Linked DNA regions of Homo sapiens: regions 1, 2, 3, 4, 5 and 6 are each linked to region 7. The links are contacts of gene promoters, found by promoter capture Hi-C in blood cells and fetal thymus (Javierre and others, 2016). All regions are on one chromosome and are shown on one strand. The core of a region is centred on a gene start or on the middle of the fragment in contact, and the rest is flanking DNA. Distances in the headings are between cores, read along the strand shown. Region 1 holds the start of ZFP28 (ZFP28 zinc finger protein). Region 2 overlaps ZNF805 (zinc finger protein 805). Region 3 holds the start of AURKC (aurora kinase C). Region 4 has its middle 4.4 kb from the start of ZNF264. Region 5 overlaps ZNF71 (zinc finger protein 71). Region 6 overlaps ZNF470-DT (ZNF470 divergent transcript). Region 7 holds the start of ZNF227 (zinc finger protein 227).

Region 1 (2,981 bases), core at 150-2,649, about 12 Mb before region 7:
TATTGCGCCTCCTCTCCCTAAAATGTTGTCTTTCTTTACTGTGCCTCCCAAACATCTTCTCTCCCTTCAAGGCAAGGCTCAAAAATCACCTCCTTGGTAAATAGGCCTACCCTTCCGCTACAGGAGGCTGGAAGCCAGGAGCGCCTTGTAGTCCTCGCTCATAATACTTGGCCCAAGGATGATCACATTCTAGAATCTTGCTTGTTTCCTTGACATTGGGTCAACAGGCTGTGAGCTCCAGAGCAGGGACTAGGGCTTAGCTATTGGTTTGCTCAGTGGCTGGCACAAAGTGGTCACCAAACAAACCATGTATAGCAGAAGAGTCTGCCGTGTTCCTCAAGGGGCACAATTCCTCCATCAGAGTCCCTCTGAGAAAAGCGGTACAAGGGAGAGGCTGAATCATTTCATCAATCAAGAATGAAGGCTGATTGGGATGAAGAAGAAGCAGGCATCGAGGCCCCGGGCAGTTTAAACTTTTCCCCGTAGCCCATCACTTCACTAGAACGTGAAGAAATAGAAACCCGCGCCCAAACAGGTCTCTTAAACTGAAAACTTTCAAGAAAATAAGCAACATTAAGTCCCGAAAAGCAAGACTGCATTTCAGAGACAAGAGATGAAATGCCAACTCACCTGGGACATGGCTTTAGGTTCAATTCCTGTCCCCACAGCCTCCAGCTTCTTGTTTCTCTCCTGGGGAAGAGCAGTGTCCCTGGAAGGCAGAGCTGAAAGAGAAAGGAGTAGCTAGAGACCAGGTCTACACCACAGTCCCAAATCACCAGCCTAGAAACGTCCCTTCCTGCATGAAAAGGTGGGATCAGATCATTACCCTGCCTAGGGACTGCCACAACGTGGAGATAGGTTTTTTTCCTCCCTGGGAGCACGAAAACAGGAAAAGCGTCTAGTTAGAGTCACCCTGGGAAAGTCAACACCCTTTTACCGCGGCTTGCTGCTCTGAATCAGTTGAGCTTCCAAATCTTCAGATTCTCCCACTCCACCAGCTTCAAAGACCAGGGGCACAGTTCTCCAGCAACTGGTCCCCGAGAGCCCAACCCCCTCCCAGATCTCATCCCGAGATGAATTCGTCCCTGTCCGCTCGGCCCCAAACACCTGTCACTCTCACCTCTGTGCCCAGGCCCCGTAGGGGCCGCTCCTCGCTGGCCTTTGGATGCGAGGCCATTCCTTGAGCGCGGCCTTCCCCGGGCAGGGAGGGCCAAGGTGGCTGGAGTCCCTACAGTCGGGCCTCGGCCCGCCCGGGGCTTTGTGCGGGGGGCGCCTCTACCCGGGAGCGGCGTCGGCTCGCGGACACTCGCGCTCGCCGCCCCCCGCATGTCACCCGAGGCCGCGCGACGCCCTTCCGACCGGTCCCTCACAGACCCACACCCCTGGCCACACCCGCCCGCCACGCCCAGCGAACAGCCCCGCGCGCGCTCCCCCATGGCCCGGCATCCACTGGGCCGCGCCGCGGAGCCGCCCCGCCCCCGGCCGCGCCCCGCCCCTCCCCACCCCTCCCCGCTGCCCCGCCCCGCCCCGCCCCGCCCCGCCCCGCCCCGCCCCGCCCCGCCCCGCCCCGCCCCGCCCCTCAGCCTAGAGAAGCCCGGCGCTTCCCACTTCCAGTGCGCAGGCAGCGCCGCCGGAACCGGGCGTGGCCTCGGCGCAATGCCCGCTGGGAAGCGTAGTCCCAAGCAGGGACGGATGCGGCGGCCCTCGGAGCTCAGGTTGCAAGATACGGTTTGGCCCCGGGCCTATGCAACGCCCGTCCGTCCTGCCCTCTGCGGGTCGCTCTCACTTGTCCCTGGACCGCAGCCGCCGCATAAGTGGTGGCCAACGCTGGGCCTGGGTGTGGCCGGAAGCAGAGGCCGCTCTGACTACACACCCACCCCCCAAAGGCTTCTGGGAGTCGCGCAGGCGCAGCGGCAGACCGGGTGAGGCGGGGCTTGCGGCGAGGGGTGGGACCGCAGGGCCGGAGTAAAAGGGTGCTTGGCTGTGACAGGTGCTAAGGGCCTGGGCGTCAGCTCCTTGCGGGAGCGTCACTGCCGACCGGGAAGGGAAAGGCAATCTTGGGGGCCTCCGGAGTCCGGAGGATCACTCTGATGGGTGATGTGTGTGGGCTAGGAAGGGGGATGTAGAGAGCTTGTGGGATTGTTTTGGGTGCCCCCTCACCTTCTCCCATTATCTCTGGCTACACGGGCCTCCCATCCTCCAAAATACCATTTTCCATTTTGTAACCTATGTATTTGCACGTCCTGGGTCGAAATAGTCTAACCCCAAATTTTCGTCTGGGCTGGCTCCTTTATGCCATTCACTTGTCATCGCCTCAGAGAGGGCTGCCTAACGTCTCAAAAATACCAGCCCTGGCGACCTCTTAAAGTTCCCTTCCTGTGTGAATCACGGTCTGAAGTTAGCTGATGGATTTATTCTTGAACATGTTTAGGACCGGTCTCTCCCCCAGGGGCCTTATCAGAACTGGAGAGCTTCATCCTGGGAGCCAAGGGCCTTGCTGGCTCACAGGCAGTGATGCTGTTACACCAGTCATCACAGATGCACTGACCTCTGCACGCCCAGTCACACTGCACGCCTGGTCTCCTTACTCTTGAATTGATTTCTTTCAGGTCTCCTGGCCTCAGTGATGGAATTAAGATGACTTCTATCTCTGAATCCAAGGGTGACTGAAAGCCGCAAGCTGCAGAAAGGACAAGGTCAGCATTTCTCTCAAAGCACTTCAGTCTCATAGAAAAGGCTTAGTTTCAGTCAGGTGGACCTAGCCATGTAATAGCTGTGGCAGACACTGCTAATGGTCTCTCTGGTGTCTATTTTGCACTCCTTCCACAGCAGAACATTGATGCTCTTCAAGTGGCCATCTGCCCAGCTTATAATACTCACCTCCCCAGTCTCCTTGTAAGGAGTAGTGGCTCTGTAACCAATGAATTTTAAGTACACATTTGCTGGGGGTTTGGTGGATGTGTGGAAAGAGACACAGCTGG
Region 2 (2,700 bases), core at 145-2,644, about 13 Mb before region 7:
CATAGGGCTTCTCTCCAGTGTGGATGCTGAAGTGGCGAATGAGGTCTGCCCTATTGCTAAAGGCTTTCCCACACTCTTTGCACTCGAAAGGTTTTTCTCCAGTGTGGGCCCTTTTATGCAAGATGAAAGTAGAGCAGTGGGTGAAGGCCTTTCCGCATTCACTACACACATATGGCTTCTCCCCAGTGTGAATCCGCTGGTGCCTTTTGAGGTAGGATCGGTGGTTGAAAGCCTTCCCACACTCGAGGCACTCAAAGGGCTTCTCTCCAGTGTGGATGACATAGTGGTGAATCAGCGCTGCGCTCTCACAGAAGGCCTTCCCACATTCACTGCACTCATAGGGCTTCTCCCCGGTATGAGTCTGCTGGTGCCACATGAGGTATGATCTGTGTTTGAAGACCTTGCCACATTCGAAGCACTCGTAGGGATTCTCACCACTGTGGATGATGTAGTGTCGAATGAAACCTGGCCTATCTCGAAAGGCTTTGCCACACTCTTTGCACACAAAGGGTTTTTCTCCAGTGTGGCTCCTGTTATGCAAGACAAAAGTGGAGCGGTGGGTGAAGGCCTTTCCACATTCACTGCACTTATAAGGCTTCTCTCCACTGTGAATCCGCTGGTGCTGGGTAAGGTGTGACTTCCGATTAAAAGCCTTCCCACACTCCATGCACTTATAGGGCTTCTCCCCAGTGTGGACCATGTGGTGCTGCAGGAGGTATGTACTCTTGCTAAAGGTTTTTCCACACTCTGTGCATTCATAGGGCTTCACTCCAGAGTGAATCCTCTCATGCCGAGCAAGCAGGCGTTTCTTGTTAAACACTTTTTCACATTCATTGCATTTAAAGATATTTTCCTCTTCCTGAATAACTGGATTTTTACCTGATCCATGTGAGTCACAGTCATGGACATCATCTCCTAAGGAGACTCGATCCTGTATAATCCTTGAACACACACTATCAGCTGTCCCTAAACCATCATGTTTGGGGCTCATTTTTCCAGGAAGCTTCTCCTTTTGGGAATCTAACCCTGGTCTCAAGCGTTCTCCCTGCATTTCTGAAAACCCATCCTGATCCTTGGGTTGCCCCAACTGGGAGTCCCCTGAAGCTCCTTGTGTTAGTTGTCCCCAAAAAGAGATTCCTTCAGACAAGGCTAGCTCACAGGTGGTAGGTTCTGTGCTCTTGGGTTTTCCTTTGTCACCTGAAAGAAATCCAACACACAGAAGGGCTTGTTAGTAATGTAAAAAGAGAAGAAACAAACTCACCACTTCAGTAAAAAAAATGAAGTTATAAATGGTGCCTTTATGTCTGTTATATTTTGCCATCTTGAACCCCAGATCTATAATTTGTTTCTTTTATTTTCCTTGGATTCCTGACTCCTTGAAAGGGAGACCAGGCAGAGAGACCAGGTGAGGGGACAGGGCCTAGAGTGGAGATATCGCTTCAATTCCAGACTAAATATTTATATAAAGGTAACTCATTATAGGTACCTAAATAGTTTATCCTAAATAGATGACTCTGGCTGAGGTCTGGTGGCACCAGAAAGACCAACCAGTGAGTAGAAGGTTAGGTCTCTGAGCCACAAGATATCAGCTGAACTCTGGAAAAGGGACGAAGGCTGGAAACTTCACATGGCAATGTGGGCAATGTCTCGATTAACCGTGCTTGTGTAATGAAGCTCAACAAACTCTAAAAACCAGAGCTCCAGTGAGTTTCCTGGGTTTGCAATGCTCTGTGCACATATTTTACACTCAATGCTGGGTGGGTAACAAGTTACTGAGGAAGCTTTGTGTTTGGAACCCCTTCAGCCCCACATCCCGTGTCCTCTTCTAATTTGTATGCTTTGTCTGTAATAAACAAAACTGTGAGTATAATAGGTTTTAGAAAGTGTTGTGAGTCTTTTTAGCAAGTTATGAAACCTAAGGTTGGTTTCAGGAAATCCCTGAATTTGCAGTTGGAATTAAGAGGATTTGGGTAGACTTGACAAAGTCCTGGAGGACTGTGTCCTTATCTTGAGTTTGGCTAATCCTGGGTAGAAAAAGATCAAGGCAGTTTTCCAATAGAAGGTACCCAGTGAAGTAAGTCCCACTTGTCACGAGAGAATGTGAGAAAGACACTATAGCCTTAGGAGAAAGAATATGCAAATGAGCTACAGTGCATGAGAGGGTGGTGGTGATGAGAATCTAGGGAAAGATGAGGCACAGGGGGACTGATTCCCAAGATTCTGACCTAGGTGACAGCTGTGAAGAGCAGTGCCACTCTCAGGACAGAGCTCATAAGGCAGAGGTACCACTCTGGCACAGACATAATGCAAACTGGGAATAAAGAAGAACAGAGAGCTCAGAAATCCCCTTGCACATAGATGGGGCTTTGGTAGATGGCAAAGAGGCACAGCACCTCAGTGATGAGAGACTACTAAGGAATTAGAGCTAGAAAAATTGGCTACCAACACGGGGAATGGAAATATTGTATTCTATCACATTCTATACTCAAAATCAACTTCAGATTGATAAAGACTTGAATGCCAAATGGCAAGTTTTACAACTTACAATAAAATAAACAAGAATACCTTTTTGACATTAGGGTAAAGCAACATTTTTTCCACAAGGTACAAAATCATTAATCACGTAAAAAAAAAACATAAATCAGACTACGCTATGTAAGGAACTCATTGAACAAAAGATACTTTAAAAAGAGTGGAAGG
Region 3 (2,932 bases), core at 401-2,900, about 13 Mb before region 7:
TGCGCTGTTCATCTAATTTCTCGCTTTTCTGCAGCTCCTTGTAGAGCTCACCCCTTGGAGCATATTCCAGAATCAGGTACACCCGGCGTGCATCATGGAAATAGTTATACAGGCGCAGGATATTGGGGTGTCTGAAGGATTAATGTTGGAAGAGTCAGATTTCTCCCTGAGGCCTATCATATGATGCCACCGTCACTGCCTGGTCACACAAGTGGCAAATTATGCTGGGACCAGAATAACAACAGCCCTATCTGGGAGCAAGTGAGGGGAGAACGGAGAACAGGAACCAGGATTCGAGTGTCTGACCCAGGGTAGGAGGTAGTGTAAATGGAATGAACTGCAGAGAAGTCTTCAAGGTACAAGTGCAGGGTTTACTTGGGGTTAGTATTTGGGGAAAATGCTGGGCTCAGACGTCAAAGATGAAAGAGGAAGCAGAGACTGTCCTTACTGTAGATGAGCCTGGATCTCAATTTCCCGGCGCAGCTGGTGCTCCAGTCCTTCCTTCTCTATCTGCGACTTGAAGAGAACCTTCAGGGCCACAATGAAATGGCTTTCCTTGAGCCGAGCCAGGTACACATTCCCAAATTTCCCCTTGCCCAGGGGACGCCCGATTTCAAAGTCATCGACTGTGAGGCGCCGCCTGACAGGAGAGGAAGAAAAAAGCCTCAGCTTGGGAGGTAGGGTAGGCGGAGGGAAAGTCAGGGATGCCAATGCTCCCCTTCCTCTTTCATTGTATCCTTCCTCTGCCGCTTTCCCTTCTCACACAGACCCAGCCCTATCAGTAGTTCTCGTTCCCAGGAGCCAGCACCCCACACACCCAGTCTGTTCTTCATCCCCACGTCCCACCTTCCTTCCTTTTCCAGATACCAATCCCAAGGGACTCACATGGCTGGGCTGCTGGGCTGCTGGGCTGTTTGGTTTGCTGTAGCCACTGAAAGAGAGGAGGAGGAGGGAGATAGGAAGGGAGAGGGGAGGGAAGGAGAAGGGGAGAGAAAGAGAGGAGAGGAGAACAGTAGAGAAGGGAATAGGGAGCGAGAGGTGAGGGGAAGAAGGGGAGGAGAGAAAGAGAGGGAAGGGGAAGGCAGGGAGAGGGGGAGGGAGAGGTAAGGGGAAGAAGAAAGAGTAAGGTAAGGTAGGGAGGGGAGGAGGAGGTGAAGAAGAGGCAGAGAGAAAGGAAGGGGAGGAGAGAGTAGGGGAGGGAGAGGTGAAAGAAAGAATTGGAGGGAAGGGAGGGAGTGGGGAGAAAAGAAGAGCGTTGGGGAGGAGGAGAGGGAGGGGAGATGTCAACACATGTGTCTTCTGTGCACCCGACCCCTGGCCCAGTCCCCAGCCTTCCCTGCGTCCTTTCTCTGGCGCTGGCTCTCACACTCTTCGCCTGCAGGTTGAGCTTTGCCCAGCTGCACCACAGCTCTGGGGGAGCTCATGGGGAGAAGAGGTGAGGGCGCGGACGCCTTCCTGAACCCTCTGGATGGCTGTTCCCGTTCACAGGGTCCTGAAAGGGGTGGGGGGTCACTTTCTGGCCGGGGCGCTTCCAATCCTGCTCGTCCTGCAGCCTCACTGATGTCTCACTGCTACACAGGCTTCGGGATCCGCGGCGTCGTGAGCAGCCGTGGCTGCGCGGCCTTCTTTTATACCCGGCACCAACCGCTCAGAGAGGTACTTCCTGGCTGGCTCCTATTGGCTGAAATTCCTGACGCCATCGGAAGTGCGCCCAATAGAAAGGACAGAAACGGGAGCCTCAGTCCAGGGTTCCCGGGTTGGGGCGGAACTGGAGTGCTGCGGTCCGGGCTGGGCACTGAAAGCGAGGGCCAGGGGTGAGGCCCGAGAAGGAAGGAGACAGAGGGTGCGGAGAGGTGGTGATGGCCGTTGTGGGAATGAACAACGCATACACCCACGGGGTGTGCATGCGTCAACTAGGAGAGAGCCGCGATGCACGTGGGAATGAACAGACGCCCACTCCTGACGTGCTGGAGCCTCGTGCAGCCCGTGACCCTAAACCACTTCGCGCCTTGTGCAGCCGGCGACCCCAAAACCACCTTGCTTCAAGGTCACGTCCGATTCAGGCCACTCTCCAGGGTCACCGCGATGGGGCTCCCTGAAGCCTGCGGCTGTGCCTGCTCACAGCCAGGACGCCACCAGTCCAGCTCACTTACCCCTCTCCTCCCACTCGCCAAATATTTGTTGGACCCTGTAATCAGTTTGTGGATTTGGCCTCAGATCGTAAAATCAGCCCCCACGTATTTGTTTAGCAAACACATAAGTTTCAAAAACATTAAAAATTGAATTCTTTTAGACAGGGAACATATCTTGCAGAAATATAATTGAAGGCCTGGCGTGATGGCTCATGCCTGTAATCCCAGCACTTTGGGAGGCCGAGGCGGGCGGATCACCTGAGGTAGGCAGTTCGAGACCAGCCTGGCCAACAGGGCGAAACCCCGTTTCTACTACAAAAATTAGCCGGGTGTGGTGGCGCATGCCTGTAATCCCACCTACTCAAAAGGCTGAGGCAAGAGAATCGCTTGAACCCTGGAGGCGGAGGTTGCAGTGAGCCAAGATCATGCCACTGCACTCCAGCCTGGGCGACAGAAGGAGAACGAGACTCTGTCTCAAAAAAAACAAAAACAAAAACAAAAAAACCCAAAAACAAAAAAGCTCGTCTCAAAATATTTGGGGAGACCTATTTGAGTAATAAAACTCTGGTCTCTCATTTAGCTCGATTGATGTGAATTAAACCCTTTATTGCAATTATCCTGTCTTGATAAGTCGACTCTATCTGGGGAGCAGGGAAAATAATGAACCCATTAGGTGGTTACAATAGGTGGATCAGGGTAATGGCGCTTAGCTCAGGCCAACCATTCCTTTCTCAGAGGCTTTCCCAAACCTGTCTGTTTGTTTGTTTATTGAGACGGAGTCTTGCTCTGTCACCCAGGCT
Region 4 (2,805 bases), core at 192-2,691, about 13 Mb before region 7:
TCATAGAGACAGAAAGTAGATTTACAAAAAAAGTTCTCCTGACTCAAAAACAAAACAAAAAGAATCAGCAATGTTTCAAACACACACAAAAAATAATAAAATAAATTCAGTACTTGAAATAAATCTCTGTGTTTGTGTGTGTGTGTTCCATTTCTCCCTAATTCCATTTCTCAACTGCATGAATCCTTAACTCATGAAAGATACTTTTTACCCTCTTGGCTCCACAGTTAATGGAGAAAAAAAAATCATCAACAGTGACTTCTAAGATGGCTTAATATACTATATAATAAAATATTTTTATTTATCATGAAATAAATTAGTACAGTCCATGAAACTCCTGCTCTGCTTCATATTGCATAAACATATGTATACATAATTATGTATTTTATGAATATATCAGCCTTCTAATTAGAGTCCTGGAAGTTTTCTCTCTAGGCTGATAGGACAATCTCCAAAGTTACCAGAAACTTGAATTCAAGTGTTCTTTTTATGAACTCTCTCAAAGAAGCCCTGAACTGTAGCTGACTGTAAGCCACCTTTGGAGAAGACTCAAAGTCAAACAATAATTGTGGATGACAAAAGTCTTAGGACAACCATAGTTAAAAAACAATGGACAAGGAAATTTGGTTATTTCTGTGACAAACGATTATGACAAATGTACTTTTCTCAAGTTTTAAGAGTGGGAGGGTCAATTTCTAGGTTCAGTCAAAAGAAACCACAAACATCAGTTCTATGGGACAACTGGGTTGGTTTTCACAAGAAACTGACAAGCTCACATTAGGAGTTCTAACTGTCCTCCCAGAAAGGTATATTAAGCAATCTTAGAAGTCACTATTGATGATTTTTATTTTCCATTAACTGTAGAGTCAAGAGGATAAAAAGTATCTTTCATGAGTTAAGGATTCATGCAGCTGAGAAATGGTATTAGGGAGAAATGGAATACACACGCGCGCACACGCGCACACACACACACATATTTTACTGCAAGAAATGGGGGTGGTGTGCGGTGGCTCATGCCTGTAATCCCAGCACTTTGGGAGGCTGAGGAAGGAGGATTGCTTGAGTGTAGGAGATCGGTCAGAGTGGTGGGAGAAGCTATAAGAAAAGGACGCAAACCTTCTGAAAGGTCAGAAGTCTCTGCATAGCTTCACGGGAGAATAAGCTGAAAGCAGCTGTTCTCTTACCCTAAGGCAGAGGGCAAGGAGTAGGTACAAGGAAGTGTAGGGGAATTTAACATAAACAGGCTTGTTTACTTATGTTAACTAGGAACCAACATTTGATCATTCACGAGTGAGGCTGCCCCCAAAAGGGGGAACAATAATGTTAATTACCCACAGACTGTGTTGGCTCCAGGCTTTTGGCATTATGTCTGTACTGAATAAAAGCAAGCAGTCCCAGCTTATCAAGACTGCTCACTCTTCAGCAGTCCCCTAGCTGCTCTTACACTACATACCTGTGTCTGAGTACTCCTTTCATCCATCGCTCAGCCAGGGTCTACAGGACAGACCCGGCTCTTGAGGCCGGGAGTTAAGAGACTAGCCTGTGCAGCATAGTGAGACCATTCCTCCACAATAATTTTTTTTTTTGAGACAGAGTCTCGGCACTGTCACCCGGGCTGGTGTGTAGTGTTGCAATCTTGGCTCACTGCAACCTCCATCTCCTGGGTTCAAGCAATTCTCCTGCCTCAGCCTCCTGAGTAGGTAGGATTACAGGTGCCCGCCACTGTGCCTGGCTAATTTTTTATATCTTTTAGTAGAGATGGGGTTTCACTGTGTTGGCCAGGCTGGTCTTGAACTCCTGACCTCATAATCCGCCCACCTTGGCCTCCCAAAGTGCTGGGATTACAGGTGTGAGCCACCCACCTTGCCTACAATAAAAATTTTAAAAAAAGATAGAAGAAGAAATGGGCTATGTGATTGCAGGGACAGGCCAGTCCCAAATCTGTAGGCTAGAGTTCAGGCCAGCAGAATTGAAACGTGGATAGGAGCTGAAGGTGCAGTCTTGAGGCAGAATTTCTTCCCCAGGGAACCCTGTTTTTCTCTTAAGGCCTTTCAACTGATTAGATAAGAACCACCTACATTATCAAAATAACTGATTATAGATGTTAACCGTTTCTATGAAATACCTTCATAACAATACCCTGGTCAGTGTTTAATACAATTTCTGGGTAGTACAGCCTAAACAAGTTTACACATATAGTTGGCAATCATACTCTACCCCTTGTCACCTTAAACCATCTTTAATCTTCAAATAAATACAGTAAAAAAGGCTTATTTTGGCCAGGTGTGGTGGCTCACACCTGTAATCCCAGTACTTTGGGAGGCTGAGGTGGGTGGATCACTCGAGGTGAGAAGTTCGAGACCATCCTGGCAAACATGGGGAAGTCTCTACTAAAAATACAAAATTAGCCAGGCGTGGTGGCACACACCTGTAATCCCAGCTAGTCAGGAGGCTGAGGCAGGAGAATCGCTTGAACCCAGGAGGCAGAGATTGAAGTAAGCTGGGATCGGGCCACTGCACTCCAGCCTGGCGACAGAGCGAGACTCCGTTTCAAAAGAAAAAAAAAAAAGATTAAAAAAAATAGAGATGGGGGTCTTAATATGTTGCCCAAGCTGGTCTTGAATTCCTGGCCTCAAGCAATCTTCTCACGTTGGCTTCCCAAAGTGCTGGGATTACAGGCGTGAGCCACAGCACCCAGCCCTGGATATTATATGCTTGCTTGAAAGCCTGTGGCAGGAAATCCACTTCCTACCCCAATCTCCACATGGCTCAGCCCCTCATCTCCCTATAGACTTTGATCTATGT
Region 5 (2,903 bases), core at 308-2,807, about 12 Mb before region 7:
ACTGGAATATTATTCAGTCAAAAAAAGGAATGAAGCTCTATATGTGCTACCACATGGTTGAACCTTGCAAATATTATGCTGAGTGAAAGAAGCCAGTCACAAAAGACCACACCATGTATGATTCCATTTATTTGAAATGTCCAGAACAGTCAAATTCATAGAGACAGAAAGCTGATTACTGGTTGCCAGGGGCCGTGGACTGATGGGGGAAAATGGAAATGAGTGCCAATGGGTACTCGGCTCTTTTTCAGGATGATGAAAATATTCTGAAATGGACTGTGGTGATGGTTAACGCGACTCTATGAATGTACCCAAAATCAGTGAATTGTACACTTTGTGATACGTGATGTGTACCTCAACAAAGGTACCAAACAAATGAAGACAGAATAAACCAAAGCTCCCAAATAAGTCTACTGACACATTTATATAGCAAAATCAATTACAGGTAGATTCAAAAGTTCATTGTTAACATTCAAATGACAAATGGTGAAAAGGAAGAAAATATAGCTGCTATGTGACCTGTGGATGGAGAAACCCTTTCACAGCTTAAAGATGAAGAAAGACACCACAGTGGGAGAAACCAACAGATTTGATTTTAAAAATATGAAATGCTTTTATACAGAAAAAATAAAGTAAAATAAAGAAACAAAAAGCAAATCTGGGAAGAATATTTGCCACAAATATTTACACACACACATTTGCTTCTGTAAAGTCTTTAAAGCATACTCAGATTCCTGTAGACTGCTAAAGCACAAGATGGATCATTTCCCTGCCCACAGAAATGGCTAGTAAACATTTTCTAAGACTTGAACTTCACTAATAATACAAACAATGCTACTCAGAAATAAATCACGTGGCACCATTTGTCCCCTATCAGGCTCATCATGGTTTATAGCATTTGTCATTTATATCCATTTATCATTTATTATCATGGTGCAATATTGCACCAATCTAAATATATCCAACATGCAGAATAAATGCCTGACAACAGCCATATAAATCATCAGAGACCCGCTCAGACATGCTGGTGGGAATACATACCGCCGTAACTGATGTGGAAATAATATCAAAATACCTCAAAAATACCCAACCCAATCTTCCTCTTCAAGGAATCACTCCTAAAGAAATCATATAAGACACAAAGAAAGATTTGTGCCCAGTGTCCCTCATGACACTGTTTATAACCAAAAAAAGAATACTTGGAAACCAATAAAGGTCCAACAACAGAGGAACCATTAAGTAAACCAGGGTATGGCCACTGAACAACACTTTTATGGGGTCATTAAGATGGACGTTACAAAGGAGTTTTTAATGATGTGGAGAAATGCTCAGGATGAAATCTCTGATGAAAAAGCAATCTTTAACATTAAAATTGCTTAGCCAGACTCAAACATTCCAGAGTGATTATCTTTTGGGGTAAAATCATGGGTGAATTTGTGGGCCTCATTCCCATAAGCTTTTGTACTTTCATCACACATGTGGGCATTCACATTCACAAGAAGCATTTAGTGTGTTTGCCCATTTTAAAGGTCACACATCCAGCATGGTCCTGCGCAAGTTTTCACTCAATGTCACATGTCTAAACCACCACTTCCCACAGGTGCCCACCTGTGTCTCCTAAGAGTCCAGAGAGCTAGTTTGGCCATTCCAAAGCTTCCCTGTCCCCTACAACTGACCCCACAGCCAGGGTCAGCATCATCTATAAGCACAGCCCTCTTCATCAGGGCAGACACAGCCCCAGAAGATGGGACTGGGGGCCTTGGAGAGGGTTCGAGCAGCAGAGGCTCACCCAAGGCAGGATCCAGCCTTTGGAAAGGAGAGTGACAGGGCAACATGACTCACCAGTGCCTCATCAGTCAGCAGCTGAGCAGCCATCCCTCTGCTGCCCACGGTGAATAGGAAGACAGGCCTGCGGTGACCAACAGTGCTGTAGGGAGAAGAAAGAGGGAGGCATGCTGAGAGACCAGGCCTAGGCTGGCCTCACAAATGTAGACAGGACAGACACACACCCACTGAGAGACAAGCAGAGACAGACAGATAGACACACATACACATACATCAACAGTGAGTATTTAGAGGGCTTACTGCATGTAGGGAACTTGAATGTATATCACTTGATCTTCCAACCATCCTGGAAGGTAGGTACTACTTCTACCTACCCATTTCACAGATGAGGAGGCTGAGGCCCGAGGAGATTAAACCACTTGCTCAAGATTACAGAGCTGGGACTGGAGTCAGGCAGAGTATGTCTGGGTCCACAGCTTAGCCTCCAGGCTACAATGCCTCACAGATGCACTCCCATGTACACTCCTATAGATATGGTTAACACACATACACTCACACACATTCCCGCAGGCTGCTGAGGGCCACCGGACACCCTGCCTTCTCCCAATGGCCCTGCCCGGATCCCTCCTTGAGTGTGAGTGCTGGACTGAGGCCCCCTGAGATGCCCCAGAACCACCTGTGGCCTCTTTGGGCACTTCCCCCAGACTTCATGGGGTTACCATGAGGTTCAACTAGCAGATATGAGTGTAAGGAACTTCCACCCAGGGGCTCTCAGAGCCAGATTCGCCTAGAGAAATGCATCTTGATTCAATTCTCCTCCAGTTCTCCTGACAAGCTCAGGATAAAGTCTCAAGTGGAGAGATATCTTAACATCCCTGCAACCCATCACTCGCCCCTTGAAACAAAAGAAAAGCAGGAGAATAAGATCCTGTGATTTGCAACAACATGGATAAAACTGGAGGTCATTATGTTAAGTGAAATAAGCCAGGCATAGAAAGACAAACTTTGCAAGTTCTCACTTGTGTGAGCTAAAAATTAAAACAAACTCATGGAGATAGAGACTAGAATGATGAAGAAACCTGAGGCTGGGAAGGGTAGTGGAAGGGTGGGGGGAATGT
Region 6 (2,700 bases), core at 21-2,520, about 12 Mb before region 7:
AGTGTGGGGAAAAGAGAGGTCAGACTGTTACTGTGTCTATGTAGAAAGAAGTAGACATAAGAGACTCCATTTTGTTCTGTACTAAGAAAAATTCTGCCTTGAGATGCTGTTAATCTGTAACCCTACCCCCAACCCTGTGCTGGCAGAAACACGTGCTGTGTCGACTCAAGGTTTAATGGATTTAGGGCTATGCAGGATGTGCTTTGTTAAACAAGTGCTTGAAGGCAGCATGCTTGTTAAAAGTCATCACCACTCCCTAATCTCAAGTACCCAGGGACACAAAACACTGCAGAAGGCTGCAGGGACCTCTGCCTAGGAAAGCCAGATATTGTCCAAGGTTTCTCCCCATGTGATAGTCTGAAATATGGCCTTGTGGGAAGGGAAAGACCTGACCGTCCCTGAGCCCGACACCGGTAAAGGGTCTGTGCTGAGGAGGATTATTAAAAGAGGAAGGCCTCTTTGTAGTTAAGAGGAAGGCATCTGTCTCCTGCTCGTCCCTGGGGAATGGAATGTCTTGGTGTAAAACCCGATTGTGTGTTCCATCTACTGAGATAGGAGAAAACCGCCTTAAGGCTGGGGGTGAGACATGCTGGCGGCAATACTGCTGTTTAATGCACCAGATATGTTTGTGTATGTGCATATCAAAGCACAGCACATTTTCTAACCTTGTTTATGACACAGAGACATTTGTTCACGTTTTCCTGCTGACCCTCTCCCCACTATTACCCTATTGTCCTGCCACATCCCCCTCTCTGAGATGGTAGAGATAATGATCAATAAATACTGAGGGAACTCAGAGACCGGTGCAGGCGTGGGTCCTCCGTATGCTGAGTGCTGGTCCCCTGGGCCCACTTTTCTTTCTCTATACTTTGTCTCTGTGTCTCTTTCTTTTCTCAGTCTCTCGTCCCACCCAAGGAAAAACGCCCACAGGTGTGGAGGGGCAGGCCACCCCTTCATTCAGTAAGCATCATTGTTGAGCAAATAACTGCATCTACTGCTGCCTTTTTTAGCAAATACAGCCCCATGCTTAAAAGGAGTATGAGATTCTTCCCAACACAGACATACAGGTACTGATTCAATTCCTTAAGGCCAGAATTTCAAGTAGCCTTGAAATTTTAATTACCCAATTTCATTATAAACAGGTATCATATATACTTTTGGAAGTAGTATTCCTCAATACCTTTGTTTTTGGTAGGAGCTATCCAGACCCTAGTGCACAATGGGCTTAGGATCCTGCTATATCATGAATATCCTTTCACAGCACAAAATAGGATTAGGAATTCATCTGTGCTTTGATCTGTCTCACTGGACATCCATCTTGAATACTCTGCTTCTCTACAGTCTAGTAATCATTCTGTAGTATAAATTTCTGCATTGGCTAGCTCTCTTTGCTTGAGAACCAAAGTATTTGACTCTGACTTAAAATGAGAAATATTAGAATACCAGGTAGTTCACAGACTCAAAGAATTTAACTCAAAACCAAGATGTGAGAAAGCAGGAATCATCTCAATGGATCTCAGTGACAGGTGGAGGAATCCTTAGGTTGCTGCCAAAGGATGACTTAATTCAAACGAATTCCAGCCTAGGAGTCATATCCCACATACTTCACAGCAGGTATAATAAAGGTCCCACCAATCAAAATGAATATTGACTAAAACAAAACATCCATTCTGGCCATACTGGTTCATAAAGCTGAATATTGGCCCTGTTCCTGTCCCTGTGTCTCTAATCAAAATACAGAGAATGAATCTGGTTGTCTTACTTGGAGCATGTGTCACTGACAGTTCATCAGAACAATACAGAATGAAGAAAGGGAAAGTGCCCGCAAAATGCTAGGAAAAGTCTGTGTGTTAAAGACAAAACCAGATTTCAACATAGATACTGAGGCTGTGCATGTGTTTGTATGTACATACACACATATATATTCAGTATTAATTTTGACTCTATGACTAGGTCATTTTACCTGTAAGGTTCTGTAAACCACATATTTCATTAAATATGTTGTAGACGCCACTCCATAGAAGTGTATGTAGAGCTTAACTGCTTTCTACTAATCGCACAACACAGTACTGAATAACTACAATTTAGTCAATCCACTTGGCAGGGCGCTGAATTCTTATTTGTCATAATTGAAACAATTCTACAAGAAAACAATATTTATATCTACCTATTTATTCCAATGGGATAAAATTCCTAGATCTGGAATTACTGTTTGAAAAAAATTCACGTTTATAATGTTGATAGGTCATGCCATCCGAGGAGATAGGGGACGAAGTTACACTGCTAATAGTGATCAAGTACCTGTTTTCCCACACTAATACCATTACTGGATATTATCCAAATTTTATATTGTAATCTACCAAGAGCCAGGAAAATGTGGTTTCATTCATATTCTTCTGATTAATGAGGTTAAGAATTTCACGAATTTTCTTTATCCATTTGGATTCTTCAGGGTGATTCGCCTATCAGTGTGCATGGCAAGTTGTTCCCCACTGCTCTGTATATGTAACAGCATTCTGTTATTTTCTATAAGTTGTATACATTTCCCTTCAACTGTCTTTTACAAGTTTTTGGTGCCTTTCACCATGCTGAAGTTTTAGATCGTTGCATAGCCCAACTTGTTCTCGATTTCTTTATGGCTTCTAGGACTCCATGTCCTACTTGATAATACGTTCCTTTTTTCTACATTTGCCTCTAACA
Region 7 (2,732 bases), core at 93-2,592:
AATATGACATATTTTGACATGGAATGAAATTAAGTAAGTGAGATGTTGCAGGATTTTTCTAAAAAATTCAAAATTCATCAGTGCAGTTTTTGAGGTCTTCCACAGTAAAATCCATACCTACATTCCCAAGGCTGATTTCCAACGACTCACCGGTAGCCATATGGATTACTATTTAAGATAACTGAAGACGACTGTATCATTGAGATTAAGACCACAGACTCAGAAAAAGGAATAGAAAATAAACAACAACAAAAACCAAAGAAACAAAAACAAACAAAAAAGATCACACAGTCTGAAAAGGAATGCTTGGGTTCAATCCCAAATCCACCTCTTACTATCAGTTGAATAACTTCGGGAAAGTATTTAATAACATAAACTCTGCCTAATTTCCTCATAACAAAATAACAAGACCTACTTCATCAATAGCTATGGTCCACAGACGAATGCCTTAAAATCAAAGTGGTAAGATGTTATTGGTAATACTCATTTCCAAGTAGTTTTCCTACCCACTCTCACATTTATTCAACAAATATTTCATCATTTTTCAGTAGTAACTTACTGAGTGACGGAAACTTGATTAACTGAAAGGACAGAAAATGGAACAACAAAGTGCGTTCAAGAGCAGGTACCTGGGGCTATGCTGGGAGAAGCCAAGAAGTCCCTCCTTCCTCCTCTTTGCAAATTCGGAGGCGGTGAATAAAAGGATGCTGTCAGCACGATGGAGTCTCTATCCCGGATAAACGGCGGTAAACATCCCCACGCATTGGAGCCCGATGACTCAATCCTTCTTAAAAAAAAAAAAGATCTGTAAAAGTTCGGGAAGAGCTCGGTCTCCTGAAGGATACGACAGAAAGGCCATGGCATAAAGCCCTGACTTTTCTTCTCTCTTCACTGGAGCTTCCAGTAAAAAGGGCGCTTGTGAGGGAATCACTGTATCAATAGCAGGAGCCAACCCAGTATCAGGTGCCACCACTGTTCTAAGGTTTGACCCGTATTATCTTGTTTAATTCTAATTACAACCCTACACAGTAACGACTATCTTTATTGCTATTTTAAAGATGAGGAAACAGGAGCGCGGATCATAGGTAACTCGCTGTTTATTATACCCACAGAACTAGCGGCGCTGCTTGCCAAGTGCGGGAGGAGAGCAAACTTCCCGCCCTCGGCCTCTCGGCCTCCGCCGCGGCCGCGACCTCTCCATCCCAAGACTGATGGCTGGGGAGCGCCTATTCCCAAGCACAGGCTGAAAAGGTTCAAGAGGGGTCGTGGGGGTGCAGGGCTGACTCACCTCCCGGACCCAAAAGATGGTGGCGGCCTCGCTTTCCGGGGCGGAAGTGGCTCTGCCTGCCCAGAGCTCCTGAACTACCCTTCCCAGAAGGCCCGCGCTCCTGCGGCCCAATTGTTTCCGGACAGAGTTCTGGAATACGTTTCCCAGAACTTCCAGAAGGAAAAACCATCCAGGTGCCGCCCTCTTCGCGCTTGAAAAAAAAAAAAACAAAAAAAAAAACGGAGCGAGCGAGTGAGAGAGGGTTACGGAGAGTGTGACAAAATTCTCGGAGCTCCCGGACTACAACATCCAGAATCCTCTTCACGGCTTATTGCTGTTTAGCCAGGCTGAAGCAGTTCTCTGATGTCAGTGGAATTTAGGTTTTTCTTATTAACAAAAAGTAACAGCAAATATGTGAAGAATTGGAGCCCTAAAATAAAAAAAGACTCCCAGCACTTTGGGAGGCCGAGGCGGGCGGATCACGAGGTCAGGAGTTCCAGACCAGCTTGGCCAATATGATGAAGCCCCGTCTCTACTAAAAATATAAAAATTAGCCGGGCGTGGTGGCGCGCGCCTGTAGTCCCAGCTACTTGGGAGGCTGAGGCATAAGAATCGCTTGAACCCTGGAGGGTGCAGTGAGCCAAGATCGTGCCACTGCACTCCAGCCTGGGCGACAGAGTGAGACTCTGTCTCAAAAAAAAAAAAAAGAAAAAAAAAACTATTATAAGAAACAGATCACGTGATCCTGTACTAATAGAATTATACCCACCACTTCCAAAAAAAAAAAAAAAAAGGGCAGAGGAAACCCTTTAAGTTTTTACATTTAACAGGATCGACTAATAGAAAAACTACTCTTTAGATACTAAAAGAATGAAAGAGCAATCAAAAAATGCAACGAAGGCAGAATATATTATGGATTTCCACTTTTCTTAATAGCACAGTCATATAATTCAGAACAACTTGCTTACTGAGGATAGCTAGACATAGAAAACACAAGCTTTGGCATATGGTAGATCAACTCCACAAAGCAACTAGGGCCTCTGTAATCATTCCTCAAGGAGTTTCTGAATTTGAAAGATGAACAAATTTATTACTTCAGTGTTTAAACCTTGATCTTTATTTGCTTAAATGTATAATGGAATTGATGTTTCCAAGAATTGAGGGTTGAAAGAAGAGAGCAATACCTAAAAATATCCACATATCTACTACAGTACATGTTTGCAGTTCTCATTTACTAAATATATATTCTTTATTCTGTTATATACAACTATCTCTTATAAAGAACCAAGTATGTGCCAGGAACTAGTTCAAACTATTCAGACTATGGGACCCTCACTACATTTTCACAACTTTTTTCTTTTTTTTTTTGTTCTGTTTTGTTGTTGTTGTTGTTGTTGTTGTTGTTAGACAGAGTTTGGCTCTTTTGCCCAGGCTGGAGTGAAGTGGCATGACCTCGGCTCATTGC

The links. Contacts are between HindIII fragments. The CHiCAGO score rates a contact against its expected background, and 5 or more counts as called.
Region 1: the fragment with the promoter of ZFP28 here is called in contact with the fragment with the promoter of ZNF227 in region 7 in 2 of 17 cell types (naive CD4 T cells and total CD4 T cells); the score reaches 8.1 in naive CD4 T cells.
Region 2: a contact is called between a fragment that was not itself captured here and the fragment with the promoter of ZNF227 in region 7, in 1 of 17 cell types (total CD4 T cells). The highest score is 7.6, in total CD4 T cells.
Region 3: the fragment with the promoter of AURKC here is called in contact with the fragment with the promoter of ZNF227 in region 7 in 5 of 17 cell types (total CD4 T cells, naive CD8 T cells, non-activated CD4 T cells and 2 more); the score reaches 20.4 in total CD4 T cells.
Region 4: a contact is called between a fragment that was not itself captured here and the fragment with the promoter of ZNF227 in region 7, in 1 of 17 cell types (total CD4 T cells). The highest score is 7.6, in total CD4 T cells.
Region 5: a contact is called between a fragment that was not itself captured here and the fragment with the promoter of ZNF227 in region 7, in 1 of 17 cell types (naive CD8 T cells). The highest score is 8.2, in naive CD8 T cells.
Region 6: a fragment that was not itself captured here is called in contact with the fragment with the promoter of ZNF227 in region 7 in 1 of 17 cell types (total CD4 T cells); the score reaches 5.0 in total CD4 T cells.

Annotation. Positions count from the first base shown.
Region 1 is chr19:56,537,366-56,540,346 of GRCh38, reverse strand. It overlaps ZFP28 (ZFP28 zinc finger protein), which reads right to left and starts at 1,399. Exons shown (of 8, transcript NM_020828.2): 1 at 1,121-1,399; 2 at 631-722. The coding sequence starts at 1,328. It overlaps ZFP28-DT (ZFP28 divergent transcript), which reads left to right and starts at 1,613. Exons shown (of 3, transcript NR_183967.1): 1 at 1,613-1,922; 2 at 2,610-2,696. The HindIII fragment of the contact is 11,931 bases long and covers 1-2,981 here.
Region 2 is chr19:57,251,570-57,254,269 of GRCh38, reverse strand. ZNF805 (zinc finger protein 805) reads right to left here. Exons shown (of 4, transcript NM_001023563.4): 4 at 1-1,197. Among named protein-coding and RNA genes, the nearest start is that of ZNF805, 12 kb to the right of the region's middle. The HindIII fragment of the contact is 778 bases long and covers 1,006-1,783 here.
Region 3 is chr19:57,229,741-57,232,672 of GRCh38, reverse strand. AURKC (aurora kinase C) reads right to left here and starts at 1,650. Exons shown (of 7, transcript NM_001015878.2): 1 at 1,367-1,650; 2 at 886-931; 3 at 449-640; 4 at 1-131. The coding sequence starts at 1,424. The HindIII fragment of the contact is 17,293 bases long and covers 1-2,932 here.
Region 4 is chr19:57,185,658-57,188,462 of GRCh38, reverse strand. No RefSeq gene overlaps it. Among named protein-coding and RNA genes, the nearest start is that of ZNF264, 4.4 kb to the left of the region's middle. The HindIII fragment of the contact is 5,081 bases long and covers 1-2,805 here.
Region 5 is chr19:56,600,531-56,603,433 of GRCh38, reverse strand. It overlaps ZNF71 (zinc finger protein 71), which reads right to left. Exons shown (of 4, transcript NM_001370215.1): 2 at 1,843-1,927. The coding sequence starts at 1,875. It overlaps ZNF71-SMIM17 (ZNF71-SMIM17 readthrough (NMD candidate)), which reads right to left. Exons shown (of 5, transcript NR_163263.1): 2 at 1,843-1,927. Among named protein-coding and RNA genes, the nearest start is that of ZNF71-SMIM17, 6.7 kb to the right of the region's middle. The HindIII fragment of the contact is 197 bases long and covers 1,459-1,655 here.
Region 6 is chr19:56,557,588-56,560,287 of GRCh38, reverse strand. The region is part of intron 1 of ZNF470-DT (ZNF470 divergent transcript); the gene reads left to right. Among named protein-coding and RNA genes, the nearest start is that of ZNF470, 8.5 kb to the left of the region's middle. The HindIII fragment of the contact is 8,891 bases long and covers 1-2,700 here.
Region 7 is chr19:44,211,142-44,213,873 of GRCh38, reverse strand. ZNF227 (zinc finger protein 227) reads right to left here and starts at 1,342. Exons shown (of 6, transcript NM_182490.3): 1 at 1,289-1,342; 2 at 630-784. The HindIII fragment of the contact is 5,683 bases long and covers 1-2,266 here.